Regions from separate parts of the Homo sapiens genome. Here region 2 is linked to region 1. The links are contacts of gene promoters, found by promoter capture Hi-C in blood cells and fetal thymus (Javierre and others, 2016). All regions are on one chromosome and are shown on one strand. The core of a region is centred on a gene start or on the middle of the fragment in contact, and the rest is flanking DNA. Distances in the headings are between cores, read along the strand shown.

Region 1 (2,930 bases), core at 222-2,721:
TTTCTTTTTTTATATTAAATGAAGCCGTCCTCCACTTTGAAAACTTCTCAGTCTTGAGAAGAGAATCCATGTGTGCTGCTAAAGTTTTCCCCATTTTGTAATTAAGAAGTTGATTTTTTAAAGATGTAACTGAAGGCCTTAAAGTTATCCTTTTTACATAAAAGCTTGTTTCAAAGTATAGAGAAATATGCCAAATTTAAAACTTTTGGTAAGGACCAGTTATGCTGATCCACTCATGTTCATTTCCCATCTACTCAGCTGAGCACTAAAAAAAATTCTCACTATCCTCTTCCAGAAATCACCTCTTAAAACATAATTTCCCCGAGATGATTATAATTTATTTAATGTAAGTTCTAAGTAGACAGATTCATATAATTATATTCATAAATCATCTTTGAACATAAGGATTAATTCAAAGCCTGGTGCATAAGTGCTCAATGAATAAGTGCTAACTAGATGAAATAATATTATACTCTGGTTAATGAATTGACATACTACATTTTACTAGGAGTATTTGCATGTGTAACATGCCTTTTGGTTGCGCACAATTAAATGCAAGTTAATCTGATTATAAAAGTTTAAAAACTGGATACAAAAATCTCCATACAAAAGATCTCTGCCGTGACATTAATTACCACTCCAAGCACCATGCATCATCTGACAGCTACGTGGCAATGGTGTGAACCACACACAAAGCCAAAAAAATAAAAGGATCTAATTCAAAGACTATATATACATATAAGAGGTTCTCTGATTTTTAGCCCAAATTCTAGTTTCCTTTGTGCAATAATGATTATGGTTCTTTCACTGAGTGGGTGCAGCAAGAAAGCAGAACTAGAAATTAGGCTTATGAGGGCGTCTACACTTTTACAAAGAACATGCCTCGCATTGTTAGGTTCCCTAAACTCAAAGGAGAGTCAGTCTAAGCATTTTAGGAGTCACAATCTACAAATTCCTAGAAGTAACTAATAATAATGCATTAAATGCACATTTTAATTTTTTCTAGTGTTGGCCTTTAATGCAGGGGAGGCAGGTAAGGAGCAGGAGCTCTTTAAACTGCACAGTGTAAAACGCCAGCGAGGGCCCGGGGTGCCCAGAATGCCGCAGGGCCGCGGCAGAGCTCTCCTCACAGCCTTCACCAGAAGTCTACAAAGCGCCTAGAACTGGGGTGTTGAGAAAGGGGGAGGAGCATTTTTGAACCGGGCGCCAAAGACGCACTGCACAGGCACGGTAACTGACGGAACCCGAGGCGTTCGAAAGAACGCATCCTACTCCCGCCTTTCGGACACTGACCTGGGAGCCACCGTGGCGCCCGCTGAGGTATCCGTGCAAGCAGCACGCTGAGGCCACGGTGGGGACCGAAGGGGACGGCTGCCCAGCCCCAGCTCCGACAAGGTACCCAGGCCGCCACAGCTGCCAAGCGCGCAACCGCCATCTTCGTAGTTGTCCCCGCACCCTGCAGTGTCCCACTGAGGGACACGCTACGCAACGGAACCGAGGCTGCGCATGCGCTTCAGGCTGGAAGGCGGAACTTGCTAAAGAGCTCCCCGCAAGATTTTCAGCTTGCGAAGAGCGCACATGCGCAGAGCGTCGTGGCTCTTTCGTTTAGACTGTTGGTTCTACTAGTAGCGGGGTTTGGCTTGGGGCCTTTAAGATGTTTTGAGTGGCGTCGGGAGGCTGCCCTATCAGCGGGCTGATAGATACTACAGAGCTGGAAGCTCAGAAAGGAACCCTATCCAACGGTCCTAGATGGGAAACGTCTCCTGTCGAGGACACCAGGCTTGCTGCATCACCTGCAATCCCGCCGACCGCGTGACAGTTTTAACCTGTACTGGAAATGCTCCCAAGATCTGACATTAATCTCGCCTGTATAACCTGGAATGGTATCGGACATTCCCCGCTCTAGATCTATATGCCTGATTAACGAAATACTGAATTATCTTGGCCCCCTCCTCGTGCTATATGCGAAAATAAATTTCAGTAAAAAAAGATTTCAACGGAAGAATACAACTGAGAGGATTAAATAAATTTTAGGAGAATATTATATAATCCGGGGACAGAAGGGACTTTCTTAACCAAGATTTCAAAACCCCAACATCATAAATAAAAAATATATTTGTATACGAATTTAAACTTTTTGAATGGCAAAAGACACCTCAAGTTAAGAGCTTAGAAAAATGGATTTTGTAGCATAGATACATTAATACTTCTACTCAGCCTGCTCCTATAAATAAGAAATATAATTCAAATAAAATTGGCCAACAGCTATAAATAGGCAGCCCATATAAGGAAACATGATGCTCAAACTCACTAAATGAAAAACTGGAATTAAAAAAATAATGCCTTTTTCCCCCCATTCAGTTGGCAAAAAAGAAAAATAATTGGCAAGGATGCTAGACACTAGCACTTATGTATGATTGCTAGGAAGGTGAATTACTAAAATTTGTTGTGAAGTAATATGGCCACATCTATTACAATTTTAAAATATGCATCCATTCCAGTGCCTTTTAACGCAGTGGCACCAATTTGTGATTATCCTATAGAAAAACAACACTAGTTCTTAAGACTGCATATTATCTACTACACCGTTTTTAGAGGCAAAGAGAAGGAAAAAAATGGGAATGGCTAACAATAGAAAAATAGTTGAATAAATTGTAGTACAAGGGTTTCCGGACTCCAGCTCTAAATACCTTTCAAACTAATTCCTGGGGGCCTCAAGCATCAACCATGGAGTTTTACGTAGTAGTTTCCTATTTAAAAGTTATGGTGGCTTGTGTAATACTTTGAGTATATATAAGATAGTAAAGTAACTTTTATTATCCTGGTTATAAATTTGGGGGGCAGTAATTGGTACCAGAATTAAAGGCAAAGTTTGGATATAGTGAATCCAGCATGTCTTTGGAGTCGTGAGAACCTGGACTGTTGGAACA
Region 2 (2,930 bases), core at 312-2,811, 650 kb after region 1:
CGCATAGGAGCTTGTTAGAGTTGCAAAATCTCAGGGCCTAGCCCAGACTTACTAAAGGAGAATCTGTATTTTAACACGATCCCTGGGAAATTTATATGCACTCATGATAACATGGGAAGCTATGACCTAGGATAAGCAATACACAGAGTGTCATCCTTCAAGAGAATTCACCCTAAGACATTTTAAAATCACTCCAGAGAATAATTGCCCATTCACTCTTGTTTCCACATGAGACCTGGCTTGAACCTTCTATCATCATGCTCATCCCAACAAAGCTTACCCAGCCTTTGCACAGTTCCTGTAGTCACTGAGATGATCAGCTACCTATTCACTTTTCCATTCCTCATTTACAATATGAGCTCTACAGACAATCTTGGTCAGCAAGAATGGCCAGCTGACTCACTGACCGGTATCTAAGTTATTATTACATGCCACCTTGTAGGCTTTCTCCTTTGGTGGCAGACATTAGGATTTTCTCAGTTGCAGGTGAAGAAGGAATATTTGGATTTTCTCTATCAACATTATTAATTTTTTTGATTCTATATCAACATTATTAACATTTCCCCCATATACTTTTATTTGGATATTAAAAAAATAAGGGTATAACTTTCAATCTGACCTACTCTGACTGGTACCTGGACAATAAATGACTCTTTTAAGGGAGAGCTCTCCACCCTGCTGCATTCTTCTCTGTGCCCCTAGGAGGCTGACTTCTAGAGGCTGTATTAGCTAGGTTGGGGTGCCCTTGGCCTTCTAGGTGGATTTGGCCAGTGGAAGGCATGAGGATACTAAAGGATGAGAAGAAGAAGAAGTCTGGGTGTTTTTCTGCCTTCCACTTCCCTTCAGATCTCCTTGCCATTTAGGCCTACTGGTGGTAAGAGCTTCTTGCTGATATTAATAAGTGTTTTATCATCTATTATAGGTAAGCTTGATCCTGCCCATATCTTTTAACATAATGTCTTTAATAAAGTCTCTTTAATTCCCTCTTTGAGTACTCAGTCCCATCTGTGTCCTGCCAAGACCCTGACTGATTTAGTCACATTGTTTTCTTTGCTCTCAGCTTAGTCTTAAATATGCACAATGTAGCACACTTGCAGGTTCCTGTTACTTTTAATTAGATCATTGTTCACTTGACACCTCTCTAGCCTGCTTGCAAGTGACCTCTCTTGGTGCTCTAAGTCAATGCTTCTCTAATTTTAATGACTTGCATACACATCACCTGAGCGATCTTGTTACAATCCAGATTCTGACTCAGAGGTCACGAGTGGGGCCCGAACTCTTTGACTTCTAATAAATTCTTGGGTACTGAAGGTTTTTGGGCCCACAGACCACACTTTGAGGCTTCAATTCAAACATTGAAGACCAAGAGGGATGAAGGAGAGCAATGGTTCTCCAAGCATACTTAGTTCTTAACCAGCAGCATCAGCACCACCTGAGGACAAGACTGTTACAAATGCAAATTCTGGGTCCCTAACCCAGACCTACTTAATCAGAAGTTCTGGGGTGGGGATCAGCAATCTATGTTTTAGCAAGCCCTCCCAGTGATTCTGATTCACAGCTAAGTTTGAGAATCACTGAAATAGAAGATAGTGCACTTGTAATAGCTATTTTTGAGTTAAAATTACTTGAGTGACTTCACATAAAACAAGGCATGGATTCCTCAGAATAAATCTATTCAATATAGAGAAGCAATATAATGCAGGAAATTGACATTAGCCACATTGACAGAATTTTAAATTTCTGCTATTGTCATACACAATATCATGAAGGAAAAGAAAGTTACCAATAAATGTGTTTTGAAGATAGCACATTTCCTCAAGATTCAGTTCATTTTAATCATACTTATAACACTCAGATCTATGGTAGGTACTGCAAGAGATACAAATCTCTAGTCAGTCTTTGTCTTATGGAATTTACAATCTCAAGGAGGGAAAAAAACAAGCATTGGCTGGGACTACTGCAAGGCTTCTTTCTAGGATTCAAATTATGAAATCAGAGAATAAGGAATGATCAGAAGTCTGTAAAACGGCAGCATGGAGATAGAATATTTCCTGGACTAGAAGCAAGATGGACAAGAATCAGGTGATCCTTGGATAAAGGAGAGCCACAGAGATAAACACTATTGAATTCTGTTGTCTGGTTTAGCCCTACTGTGAAGCTGCTTTTGACTAGAGTATCTTTTGTACCAAGCTTTTGAATCACAGCATCGCTCTGATTACATGCCTACCAAGCAAATTTCTGGCTTTTGCTATTGCATTTGTTGTATAGCCAGAGAACGACCATCCACTAGTATGACCAGTTTACTAGACAGTTGATCTCATTCTAAATTAACATAATTTCATTCTTGGCTCATGTTCATACTTTTGTGCATTTAAGAATTGTGAGCTAGATGTGATTGACGTGGAACACTGACAAGATAGAATTTTTGAATAGTGAGGCTAGAATTACGGGTTGGACCACAGCAGTTTCTCTACTATAATGCTACCTATATAGTTTCTTTATGGATAACCAACCAGTCTCTAGTGGTAATATCCATCTCAATATACATCCCATTTAAACCTTTGAAAGTCACACAAATATGAGAAGGCCATGGCAGTTGCATAAAAGTGGTCTGCCTAAGATAAATATTCAAAGGAAGAGTCAAACAGATCAGATTGGGAGATATGCTCAGGAAGATCAGTAAAACTTAGAGAATGGGTAGACTTTTTTTAATTGAAAAAGAATTCAAATAGCATAAAATCTACCTTTTTTTAGTGTATGATTTAGTGGTTTTTTTTTTTTTTTTTTAAGACAGAGTCTTGCTCTGTCACCCAGGCTGAAGTGCAGTGGCACAATCTCAGCTCACTGCAAGCTCTGCCTCCCGAGTTCACGCCATTCTCCTGCCTCAGCCTCCCAAGTAGCTGGGACTACAGGTGCCCACCACCATGGCT

The links. Contacts are between HindIII fragments. The CHiCAGO score rates a contact against its expected background, and 5 or more counts as called.
Region 2: a contact is called between a fragment that was not itself captured here and the fragment with the promoter of ABHD10 in region 1, in 1 of 17 cell types (fetal thymus). The highest score is 5.1, in fetal thymus.

The regions. Positions count from the first base shown.
Region 1 is chr3:111,977,567-111,980,496 of GRCh38, reverse strand. ABHD10 (abhydrolase domain containing 10, depalmitoylase) reads right to left here and starts at 1,471. Exons shown (of 5, transcript NM_018394.4): 1 at 1,294-1,471. The coding sequence starts at 1,435. RefSeq lists enhancers at 1,232-1,281, 1,302-1,351, 1,362-1,411, 1,270-1,829. The HindIII fragment of the contact is 3,690 bases long and covers 167-2,930 here.
Region 2 is chr3:111,327,782-111,330,711 of GRCh38, reverse strand. No RefSeq gene overlaps it. Among named protein-coding and RNA genes, the nearest start is that of CD96, 210 kb to the left of the region's middle. The HindIII fragment of the contact is 1,263 bases long and covers 930-2,192 here.